Linked DNA regions of Homo sapiens: region 1 is linked to region 2. The links are contacts of gene promoters, found by promoter capture Hi-C in blood cells and fetal thymus (Javierre and others, 2016). All regions are on one chromosome and are shown on one strand. The core of a region is centred on a gene start or on the middle of the fragment in contact, and the rest is flanking DNA. Distances in the headings are between cores, read along the strand shown.

Region 1 (5,942 bases), core at 1,345-3,844, 69 kb before region 2:
CCTCGGAGACAGTGGGAGCTCCGAGCCCACGGAGAGCGGGGGAGTTCCGCTTCCTCCCGCCCCAGCGGCTCCCGCCCCGCCTGGGCGCAGCCGGCCGTCCCGGCTCCGAGGGTGCAGCGCGCCCGGGCGCAGCGCGAGTGCGTGGAGCCGGGCTCCAGCACGACCCCGCCGCTCGGGTTTGGGTGTCCTCAGGCTCCGCGCTCCTCCTCCCCTCCTCCAGATGGGACTGGCTCTCCTCTTTGCAAAGCCAGGCTCGCGGGGAGACGTGGTGAGCAGTAGCCAGCAGCTGGTGTGCCGTGGACGCCGCTGACCGCCGCGCGCCCGAACCGGGTGTCCACATGAGTGCCTCTCCCAGCAGATCCAGGTAAGAACTTCCTGACCTTCCTGAGCCCTAGGAGGAACACACATGGATGCCGAGTGATGGTGAGGGATCCGGGTGAAACTGGAGGCTGTGGAAACACTGGAGTGGGGGGTAGGGGTGCTGTTACATCGGAATTTTCTTAGTGAAACATCAAAGTTACCTGAGGGCCAGGTAAAGCTATTAACATGGATTATGGTTTGGCTGAGGTGTCCCTCACCTGAGAGTTTGTGTCCCCAGGAAACCACTGAGATAGATAGATTATCTCCTCCATGAATTTCTGGAGGTGGCGGAGCTGGCTTCCTTCTCCATTCAGTACTGGAGACGTGCACAGAACAGGTAGAGAGGACAGGGTTGGTTGAGCATGGAGATTGCCTCTCCTCCTCTCTATCTTGCTGGCAAAAGTTTGAACTGGAAGCACTGGCTTCCCTTGTTCTGGGCAGTGCTGCCATCTCCCTACCTGGCTGCCCCATCAGTCTTACGCCTATTCTGCTTGCATGGTAGAAGTCCGAGATTTGGCAAAAAGACAAAGTGTACATCATGGGGGTACCTAGGGAGACGAGGAAGAGGCTCTGCTTCTCGTTTCCTCTGAGGGTGGAAGTGAGAGGTTCCATCCCAGAGGAAATAGAGTTACTCTTGTGGAGTAGATGAAGGAATGAGAAGGTGTGGTCATTAGAATGAAGTTTTTAGAGCCCAAACAACTTGTTTGCACCCATCAGCCAACCTCATGCCTGGATAAACTTCATTCCTCAAAAAGTTCCTCAGCAGGATATGCAGGCGCCAAGGTAACATGAACAAACAGCTGCTTGCTGCCCCCAAGCTTTAGTTTCTAGTGGGCCTGGAGCAATTGTGAAGGACAACTCCACCCAAGGCCCAGTATTGAAGAGGGGTAGGGTGGGAGGATTGTACATATCGCGAACGCTTGGCAAATCTCTAGATTTTTTTTCCTCCTAGGAAATAATAATTTTTAAAAAGGCTTGTAAAAAATAATAAAATGTTTCATGACAGCAGCAGATGTAAAACTCCCACTACTCTGGGCAAGGACAAAGAAATTTGTGCAGGGGGCTGAGCTTTCTCCTCTGCCAACGCCTACATGGGTACATCACCTTTTGGAGATACAAATAGTATTTTTAGTGTTTTATGGATGAGGAGCCCTTCTCCTGGGAACTTTTGGGGAGGGGCGGATCTCAGCTGGGGCTCTCTCTTGGAGTTCAGGAAACTGAATAGTAGAAATAGGCTGAAAATGCTACATTTCTACACACTACCCCAAGGTCCCACTATACTCCTAAGCTGATATAGAATCTCACTGTGGAACAGATACAGTCAAAGAGAGGCACTCCTGCTTCCCAGTGTAACACACACCGATCTCTCTCTCTTCTCTCTTTCATTTAATAATATTTAGGAGGTTAGATAGGAAAGTGTAGACATGTAACTCTTATTCCCTCTATTCAACTATGCCTCCTGCCTTTGTTCCTTACTTGAAGATCATGTCTCTTGCTTGTACTGAATGTTCCTATTTATGGGACCTTCACTGCAGCTTAGAGCTTTAGTTGCCTTTGATGGTGTACAGCGAGGTTTCTAGTGTTTGCCCGAAGGCTCTTTCCTTTGGCGTATTTATTTGTAACTTGCTTAGGAGATCTCATCCTCACCTTGCAATTTGGATGAAGAGTTCTGCTGGGCGTCACTGGTGTTCAAGAGATCCAGGTCTCAAAAGGGCGTGTGGTAGTTTTAGTTTTTTCCGTCCGTGCTCAAAAGCTGTTTGGTTTTGGAGATTTGGGGCTGTGCTTTGGTGATAGTGTTGGAAGGAAACCATTATGAGCAACTGATCAATACCTAGCCAAGCTGGGGTGCCAATTTGACATTGTCACAAAAAGTGAGTGCCCTATTTGGTTGCCTGATCAGCTGTGTTCAATGATCATAGGCCTGAAATGAAATCACATTCTTTCCTTCCTTCTTTCCTTCCTTCCTTCCTTCTTTCCTTCCTTCCTTCCTTCCTTCCTTCCTTCCTTCCTTCCTTCCTTCCTTCCTTCCTTCCTTCCTTCCATGGAGTTTCGCTCTTATTGTGCAGACTGGAGTGCAGTGGTGCAATCTGGGCTCACTGCAACCTCCGCCTTCCGGTTTCAAGTGATTCTCCTGCCTCAGCCTCCCGAGTAGCTGGGATTACAGGCGCCCACCACCATGCTCAGCTAATTTTTTGTATTTTTACTAGAGATGGGGTTTCACCATGTTGGCCAGGCTGGTCTCGAACTCCTGACCTTGTGATCCACCCACCTCAGCCTCCCAAAGTGCTGGGATTACAGGCGTGAGCCACTGCGCCTGGCTGAAATCACATCCTTCTAAGGAGATGGCATTTGTCCCTGCCATCTCCTTCCAGCCTTTGCTTTTCCACCATAGTAGTCATTTGATGTCCTTGCAGATTAGCTCACTGGTGGGCCCTCTCAATACACACATCTGTAATATGTATGCTTGTCACTGAAATCACCAGCCCTAGGTCTGCAGCTGCACTCCAGAGGTGTTTCCACTGTGCTGCTCCAACTGTCGGCTGCTTTTGCACAGGTGGCATGTAGTTTTCAGTGTTTGTGTCTTTGGGCTGCTGTTTACAACACTGCTAGGAATTGTCACCCATTCTGCTTGCCCTGCAGAAGAGGTCACTTTCTCCTGGGGTGTCTGCTGCACTTCATACTCTTACTTTTCATGGATCTTTCAGCTTGATCAAGATTTTTACTTTCTTCTTCTCCTTTCTCCGTCTTGCAACTGTGGACTGGTGCATCAGGAAACACATTTCTTTTCCTGTCTAGGCACGGTCATTCTTCAAATGGTAATAAAAGCCTTCATTCCTTGATTTGATCCAGTGCCCCGATATGTACAAACCAGAAACACTGCACATATATTTTAGCTGTAAGAGTTCCATATACCCTTTATTGTGGTGTATACAGACTCTGACTTCCAAGGTGTACTCCAGTATCTGCTCTGCTTCATACCTGGTGGGTCTGCATTGCACATCTGCATAATGAATGGACGTTGCCAATAACAGGCAGGAGGAGTGGCAACAGTGTTACTGCAGAGAAAGAGAAAGAGAGAGAGAAAGTATCTTAGGAAACGGGATGGTAAGTAGGCACATGGTCTTATGAGGGTCACCTTAATTTATTAAAGCCTCATTTGGTAGGCATGAGAATAGAATTTATTAGTTGGTGGACCACTTGGCAGCAGCCTCATACACAGATCTATAAGATATTTAAATACTTTTCTGGAATGGGTTGACGTTGATGAATTTGTGACATAGTGGTCTGTTAACCATCTTTCCTCTTAGGTGTTCCTTAAACCAACAGCAATGTTGTCTTCAGAAAGTTGCTGGTGATCCACAGTAGGGGAGAGGAATATCTCTAGTTGTTCATGAGCATCACAGGTGAATAACCCATTCTAGGCATATACCAGGCATACAGAATGAGCTAAACTGTGTTGGTTTCATCAGCCATTCTAACTGGCTTAAAACTCTCTGAATCCTTTGGCTTGAAACTAGGTCAAATGGTGAGACCTTTTTGAGATCCTAATGGGCATAAAACAGGAAGTATCTTTCTCCTGTCAGCACCCTCATGGGCTCTTGGTGCAACTCTGGATCTTCTGGTAAAAGAGAAGTTTTTCCCTTCTGAGCCAAGCTTGCAACAGGGTTAATTTGGGGGTGGCCATGGACTTCAGGGGTCAGAATTGGAGAGTGCAACTTGCATTTATTTTTTTAAAAAAGCTTCATAAAAATAAAAATTGATTTATACAAAAACACAAGACCAGTGATGTACTACCTACCTACTCTCCCACCCCATGAGTTGCTGAGCTCAATGGATAGTAAACATATTAATCTAGATGAGGAAGTATAAAAAGGCCATCTTTGCAGCTCATCTGCCATCCAATCTAATTGAACTCTGAAATCCCATCTTTCTAGATATGTTCCATGTCTGGGACTTGGGGAAGGGGTAGGGGATAGGGGGAGAGGCAGGGATGGAAGAGAGCAATTCCTAGAAAAGTTTGTGAGATCCACCGAACCTGGAGATACAGGCTGCCCCGGAAGGCAAGGGCAGCCCTGGTGAGGGTGCTGGAAGCATGGGAGGAGAACCAGTCCCTGGGAAGGAGAGAAAGAGAAATGACACATAGAAATGATGAGGGAGGGGAGGGTAGGGTGGCGGAGAGAGGAAGCAAGCCAAAGAGGAGGAGGGAGAGGAAACAGATGGAACAAGAGGAAGATGCAGCGAGCAAACGCAAGAAAAGGCCAAAGAGGGGAAAAGAGCAGAAGATAAGTGAAAGCAGCACCTTGCTTTCAGGTTTTTTCTCTTCCCCGTTTTCCTCTGGCAGAGGGAGAATGCAAGCGAGCCAGCAGAACAGCGTGGTTTTTGTGCTTTGGAGGCTTCTCATTGAAGCTGTCAAGCCTCAACCCCTCACGGCAGCTCATTCTATTTTTATATTTTGCAGAATGGAAATTAAACAAATGACCCCGTGATGGCGTTTTCATGAAGATTTTATCCAGCACACCCACACAACCAGTGCTGGGGTGGCTGAATATTTAGCATAATATTCTATTTAATCAGATAAGAAGGTATCCTCAAGAGAGTGGCAGACATGAAGCCTGGGCTTTGATAACCGCCTGTAAAGAACTGTTTTGATGAGGGTGGGCAGAAGTCAGAAAGGAACCTTGTTCTCTGGCTTTTGGGCTTGTTAGTAGGAAGAACCCCAGTTAACTGAATTCTGGTGGAGCTTAGCATTTCCCCTCTCATACTCTCTCTCATACTTTTTTTTTGTTTGTTTTTTTTTGGCACTGGGTTTGGTTCCAGACTTTGTGAGCCCTCATGGTTCAGTTCTCCTTGGAGATCTCATTGGCGGCTAAAAATGGCTCACTTTGGCTGAACTTGCCCTGAGTGGAAGCCTTGCTTAGAATTTGGGTGCTCACTCTATTTGTTGGCCTGGTTAGGGAAGCTGGTGTGTACTTTGCTGACGGGACAGTGCTTAGGCAGCTGGCATAATGATGCACATCTAGTACTTGGTGAGAACACAAAGCAGATGATATTTTATTGGCTTAGACACGGACTTACTTCCTTAAGTCCCAGAAGATTTAGTAGCAATTAAATGCATGCCCGTTTGCACATAACCATCCTTTTGAAGGAAAACAAAAACAAAAACCAACAATGCATGTTAAGGGGGCCAATCAATCGGACATGGTTGGTTGGGTGGATGTAAAAATGTGAGACTGTTCAGAAGGCTTCTCACTGCCATGCACGTGTTTGTGTTTAACAGGGTATTTATGGGCTCTTTTTCCTTATATATTGAAGGGTTATATAATTCCCCAGCTATTAACCTTTAAAATGCTGTTTTTACAAGTTCAGTACCTAGACTAGATAGCAATAAAGAGTGATGTTGAGTCAGCCTGACTTCAAAGGGAGCGATGGGTGGAACAGTTGGACTCGGAAAGGAGCGCTTCTTCCTACCAGCTAGCCTTGTAGTGGCTGATTTTTCCCTCTGAAATGAAACAGGCTTACTAGCCAGAGACTATTCCCTGCAGTGACTATAAAAAGGTATCTTCGTCTCTGACGCAGGGAGC
Region 2 (5,735 bases), core at 2,311-4,810:
TCCCTGCCTTGGCATCCTGGAGCAGGTGCAATAAGGTGTCCGGGGTGCCAGCGCCTTCCAGTTCACATTTACTTGGATGTGTACCCAGGAGAAATCTAGTCTGGAAGCTACTATGTTTCACTAAAGTTTTCCCCTGGAAATTGAATAATAATAGTAGTTTATGAGTCTCCAGAAGTAATAGACAGGTGTTGGGTGTCTTGTGTCTGTAGGAAAAGGGAGCTTGTGCAGCTGAGAATAAACAACAGTTGCTTGGTAATATGACCTCCTTTCATTTAAAGTCAGAGGCCTGGCTGCAGGTGGGGAAAGGGGAGGCTGGGTTGTTCTGGTTACCACCTGTCTGGGGAAGCGGGGAATGGGGGCAAAGGTGAGGTCTGTTTCACAGAGAACTGTGCGGTCGCTGAGAGCCAAATATTGGAGAGAAGAAATATGGGAGTGGGGAGACTTGGGGAGCAAGTGCAATCGCTGAGATTCTGACGCAGGGCATGAAAACTCTTTGGTTCTGATGTTGGCACCAGCTACTTTGAGAAATTGTTTCTCTACACTTTTGGAGGCCTCTAAACTGGCTTCAGAAGGCATGAGTTCCAATTCTGGCCTTGTCATTGATTAGCCATCATCATTTATCTGTGACCTTGGATAAACTACTGAATCTCTCTGTCCCACTTTCATCAATTGTAAAGGCCGCTGGGAAGACACAGTGTGATGTATGAAAGCTCTTTCCAAAAGTGTAAAGGTCACCATACACATAACAAGCACAGGATACTGGAGAGAATTAAAGGAAGGAGAAACTTGATTCTTTTCTCAAGGAGCTTATAGTCTTAACAGTAATGTTGGCTCACAGCTGTAGGGCATTTCATATTTCAAAGCAGTGCCTCATTTATTATCTTACTTGCCAGAGCCATGGGCAACAGAAACAGCTGGAAAGGGCTGAAGGATGTGTTTTGAACAGGGTTTTAACGGTCAAAAGGGTTATGGCTTGAAAAAAAGAAGGGACTGCAGGTGCAAGTGAGTAAGGACAGCGTTCAGGCTAAGAGAGCTCAGGGTATCTGCTTCCCAATCAAGTGAAACATTTTAGATTCCTGCTTGGAGGTTTTCCCTCAGGCCGGGTGAAATGTAAATGATCACTCTTAGCCACTGCTGTGCCCAAGGCTTGAATTAAATCTCACAGGATTTCAGTTCCAGAATCTACTGTGAGTGGGAAAAGTGGCTGAAGTGTGTGGGAAGAGGGTGCTGGTGGCTTTTCTTCCTTGTAAGAGGTATACACTTAAATTCAGAGTGCCCAGAACAAACTTAAAGCTTCCTCCCTTGTTTCTTCTCCCTCTTCCCAAGCTGCCCATAGAATCTTCTGGCCCCTGTCTTGTGGACCATCCTTTTGTGTTTTTGGCCTCCAAGCGAATGGTGGTGTCCTGGCTTCCTTTCTTCCCATAAGCCCCTGAGACCCTCATCTTCTATGTCAAGAGCCCGCCCAAAACTCAGGTTCCTTGAACTGGGAAGTTATCAGATCCCTTGCAAAACACTCGTCCTTGGAGGAAGTACAAGGCAGTGAACAAACTCTGTGGAACTTGGCTTAGCTCCCGATCCTGAAGTTTGGAGTTACAGTGCAATCTCCTCAGCATCCCTGGAGCCGGAAGAGGTGACCTTGGCAGGCCTGACACCTGATGGCAAGGGGTTTCTGCTTTCTGTGCTATGTCCAGGAGTTAAAGTAGAGTGAAACCAAATCACTCCTGAGAGGGCCAGTGGCTGGATTTCAGAAACGGGGGCTGACATTCCAGGGAGTCATTTATGGGAGGGCCTGGCCTTGGCTCTTCAGCCGCAGTATCTCTCTCCCTGAGGAAGAAATATTTCCCTTGGTTTCCCAGCCTCTCAAAAGTTGTGTAATGTCAGGATGCCTTGAGCTTTTCCATACTTGACAAGTGTCATTGCAGAGCTTGGTAGATCCATAGCCAGCTGTCATCCTTGATGTCTTGCTGAACTGCAGGGATGTATTTACTTGCAGTGAATTCTTGTGATCTTTAGGGATGTGAATTTTCCTCAGCTTCGGGACACTTGTGAAATGTGACTTTTGTCCTGGCACGGAAGCTGGGCATTGGCTCCCAGATGGAAACTGGACTCTGAGAGAGGCAGAAAAGAAGGGTGGATCAGATTGTGGACTTCATGGTATGTTCTTGGGTGCTTCTCATGATCTCTTTGAAAGTTACTGACCAGGCTGGGCATGGTGGCTCATGCCTGTAATCTCAGCACTTTGGGAGGCCAAGGTGGGCAGATCACTTGAGGCCAGGAGTTTGAGACCAGCCTGGGCAATATAGCAAGACCTCATATCGACAAAAAGAAATAAAACTTAGCTGCGTGTGGTGGTGCGCACCTGTACTCCCAGCTACTCAGGAGGCTCAGCTGGGAGGACAGCTTGAGCCCAGGAATTCAAGGTTGCGGTGAGCCATGACTGCACCACTGCACTCCAGCCTGGGCAACAGAGTGAGACTTTGTCTCTTAAAAACAAAACAAAACAAAACAGTTACTGACCCAAGAGACAAATGCATTGGGCTGGGGTTGAAGGAGGAGAATGGCTGCTACAGCCCTGCTCTAGGAGCTGGGCTGGGTTAGACTCAGTGCCCACAGAGAGCACCTAAATAGGATGGATCGGTTCTAGGGTTGATGATCTCTTAGGGCCTGGGTCTAGAGAGTGAGTGTGGTTCAGCACATCTTGGGATGCTACCAGGACTGAACCAGACTTCCTAGGTTCCATGACATGGGGACATACTGGATTCTGTGACTCAGTCCATGGCAGGCTGAAGCAGAACTGAATCAGCCCTCAGCAATGTAAGGGGGGGTACCCTCGACTCCCTGGGGCTCTGTTGGATGCATTGCTTTGTGGGTGCTCACCGACTCCTCATTTCATTCTTTGCTAGGGACGCGGCTATGGTACTGGCAGCTGGCTCATGTACAGGGTTCAGGCCCCATTTTCCTTACTGGTCCTGTGTCCTTTGTCTCTCAGACCCTGTTGTCTGTCTTTCCTTGGTATGTCATGTCTGGTATCCTCAGCTCACGCCGCCACGGGAGAACTGTCCTCTTCTCAGCTTGTCATTTTGGAAGCAGCCTCCAGCAACCTTGCTTTCCTCCTCTGACTATACTCCGGCCTGCAGTGCCACTACTCACGCCCCCAAATAATTTAAACTGCCTTTCTTAGGAGACAAGAGCTAGTTGAAAAGTCTCCTCATTTTCCTTCAACCCTGTATCATGGGTGGCCTGAGAGAGTGAGGACTGAATTCATTGACTCCCCTTTCTCTGCACCCCCCACCCCCAAGGAAATAGCCGAGTTCGACTAATGGGAGTTGCCTGGCCAATCGTTGCCCTGAGAAAGTTTGGTTTGTGATCCTATTTCAGTAGGCTGATTGGAGCAGCCTTTACTTGGAGGTCGAGTCCCTCCCCGAGGGAATCCGTGTACAGTTACACTAGCGGTCGCTGCCAGTGCTAGCCCATTCAGGATAGCCCCCCTCACCCCGCCCCCAGCCCCCGCTCCTCCTCCTCCTTTTTTGTTTTTATCCAGTGTCTCGCTTCCTCTCTCTCTCTCTCTCTCTGTCTCTCTCTCCCTTTCCCTCCTACCACTGCCTCTTCCTCCCGCTCTCTACCTCCCTGCAGCGCCAAGCCGGCTCCCCAACCTGGTCTGCTGAACGCAAACCGCTGAGAGTTTGCTGCACCGCCCCCTGGGGCCCCTGGCTGCCGAGTCCCGCTAAGGCAAAGACGCCAGCAAGCGAGGAAGCGCAGCGGAAGAAAAACAAGCGGGCGCGCGAGGGGAGCCCCAGGAGGGCTGCCGAGTGGCTGGCAGGCGGCTCCCGCCCCTCCCGGGTGGCCTCGCCGGCGGCTGACGGCCCGGAGGACGCGCGCTCCGAAAAGTTAGACTCCGGGCGGCGGCGCGCTACGCCGCGTCCCCTCGCGTCCCTTCCTCGCTGCGCTCCGGGAAAGGAACTTGTTCCTTCGGCCCCAGGATTGGGGAGTGTGCCGCGGGGCCGAGGGTGGGGAACAGCCAGAGGGAGACGCGAACCAGGCCGCTGGCGGAGGGCTCAGGGGGAGCGCAGAGGCGACGGCCCCCATGCCGGCGGCCAACATGATGGAGAACCGGCCGCTGCCCGCCCTGCAGGTGCCCGAGCCGCAGGGTGCGCCCGAGGGCAGCCCGGTCTGGTCCAGTTCGTCGACCCCCACGCTTCGCCGCCGGCGCTTCAAGATGCGCCGCATGAAGAACGTACAGGAGCAGAGCCTGGAGGCCGGGCTGGCCCGGGACCTGCCCGCCGTCTTGGCCCCCGGCAAGGAGTTCCTGCAGCTGCCGTCCATCGAGATCACGCCCTCCAGCGACGAGGACACCCCGTGGTCCAACTGCTCCACACCCAGCGCGTCCCCGCGCCGAAAACGCTTCCTCCTCCGCAAGTGGCTGAGGGTGAGGGAGCGGAAGGAGTGCAGTGAAAGCAGGTACGTCCCCGTTCCGCCCGTCTCCTTCCCTTCCCTCCCGTCCTCTCCAGAGCCGTCCAGGGCCCCGGGGCATTCTGGGGGAAACGTCCTGGGGGAGAACAGGAGCCCGTCACCAGAGGCGCTTCTGGAGGGCGCTGCGCCTGGTCCCAGGGATGGTGGCATTCAGCTTCCACGCGTGCCACCCGCTCCCCAACTCAGGGTGAGGGGCTTCATGTTGCACGACACGTTTACGTGGGGCTTTACGCTGCATTCCATCTCCCTTGATCCTCGCAGCGAAATAAATAATAAAAATAATAACAGCTAATAGTTATTGAGCCCTTACCATGTGCGGGCCACTATGTTGCGCACTTCATGTACCTCCAGATTTCATCCCTACGCAAACTCTCTGAGGTAGGTATTACTATGGCTCCCTTTCTACAGAAGGAGATAGTAAAAGGCCAGAGAACAGTTAAGTGGTTTATATTTCAGGACTCCGTTTCAATCTTATTTTATGTTTGGCCACACCGGATTGCCTTAACTGGCTCACTTGTGTGGAAGTGAAATATTGACATTGAGTGAGTCACATTTCCTACCATATCAGAGTCTTTAGACATCGATACCTACAAGACTGTGGTTTGTACCAGCTAGTTTTTTGCCTAGGTCAATGTGGCATCTGGGTAATGGGAGAAGGTTGAGCTTCCCTCACGTAGAGAATTGCTGCAGGGCGCCCTAGAGCAGCTCTACACAGCCCTGGTCAGGACTGCTGCTTCAGGAAGTTGTGTCTGAGCCAAGCCCCTTGCCTGGTGGAGGGCAGGGAGTCCTCACTTGTTCATCGGTACCACGAATCCTACATATTTACTTTGAGACTTTAGGGTCCTGTCTCTTAATGGATTTGTGTTCTTGTGCGGAGCAACTGAGTCATTGATCACTTTCCCTGGAATTCCTTCTCCAAATCTGTTCAATTACATTGATTTCAATTCAGTAAGTACTTACTGAATATTTCTGTGAGCTCAGTCTAGTAACAGCTAATAGTGGTGATGTTGAGGAGGGTGTGGGGGAAGGATAGGTAGAGTAAGGGGTTGTAGAGGCTGAGAAGGAAGATGAGGGGAGGCTTGTATAAGAAATGAACACCTGGGCACAGTGGCTCACACCTGTAATCCCAGCACTTTGGGAGGCCGAAGCGTGTGGATCACTTGAGGTCAGGAGTTCGAGACCACCCTGGCCAACATGGCGAAACTCCATTTCTGTTAAAAGTACAAAAATTAGCTGGGTGTAGTGGCAGGCTCCTGTAATCCCAA

Evidence for each region. The method cuts DNA at HindIII sites, captures the fragments that hold promoters and counts their contacts. A CHiCAGO score of 5 or more calls a contact.
Region 1: a contact is called between a fragment that was not itself captured here and the fragment with the promoter of GRAMD1B in region 2, in 1 of 17 cell types (fetal thymus). The highest score is 5.1, in fetal thymus.

The regions. Positions count from the first base shown.
Region 1 is chr11:123,358,436-123,364,377 of GRCh38, forward strand. It overlaps a transcript of GRAMD1B not described here. Among named protein-coding and RNA genes, the nearest start is that of MIR4493, 20 kb to the right of the region's middle. RefSeq lists a silencer at 92-201. The HindIII fragment of the contact is 2,836 bases long and covers 1,177-4,012 here.
Region 2 is chr11:123,426,709-123,432,443 of GRCh38, forward strand. GRAMD1B (GRAM domain containing 1B) reads left to right here and starts at 3,561. Exons shown (of 20, transcript NM_001387025.1): 1 at 3,561-4,458. The coding sequence starts at 4,085. LOC124902776 (a long non-coding RNA gene) reads right to left here and starts at 4,506. Exons shown (of 2, transcript XR_007062928.1): 1 at 4,239-4,506; 2 at 1-2,108. RefSeq lists silencers at 3,699-4,028, 4,139-4,188. The HindIII fragment of the contact is 5,032 bases long and covers 1,292-5,735 here.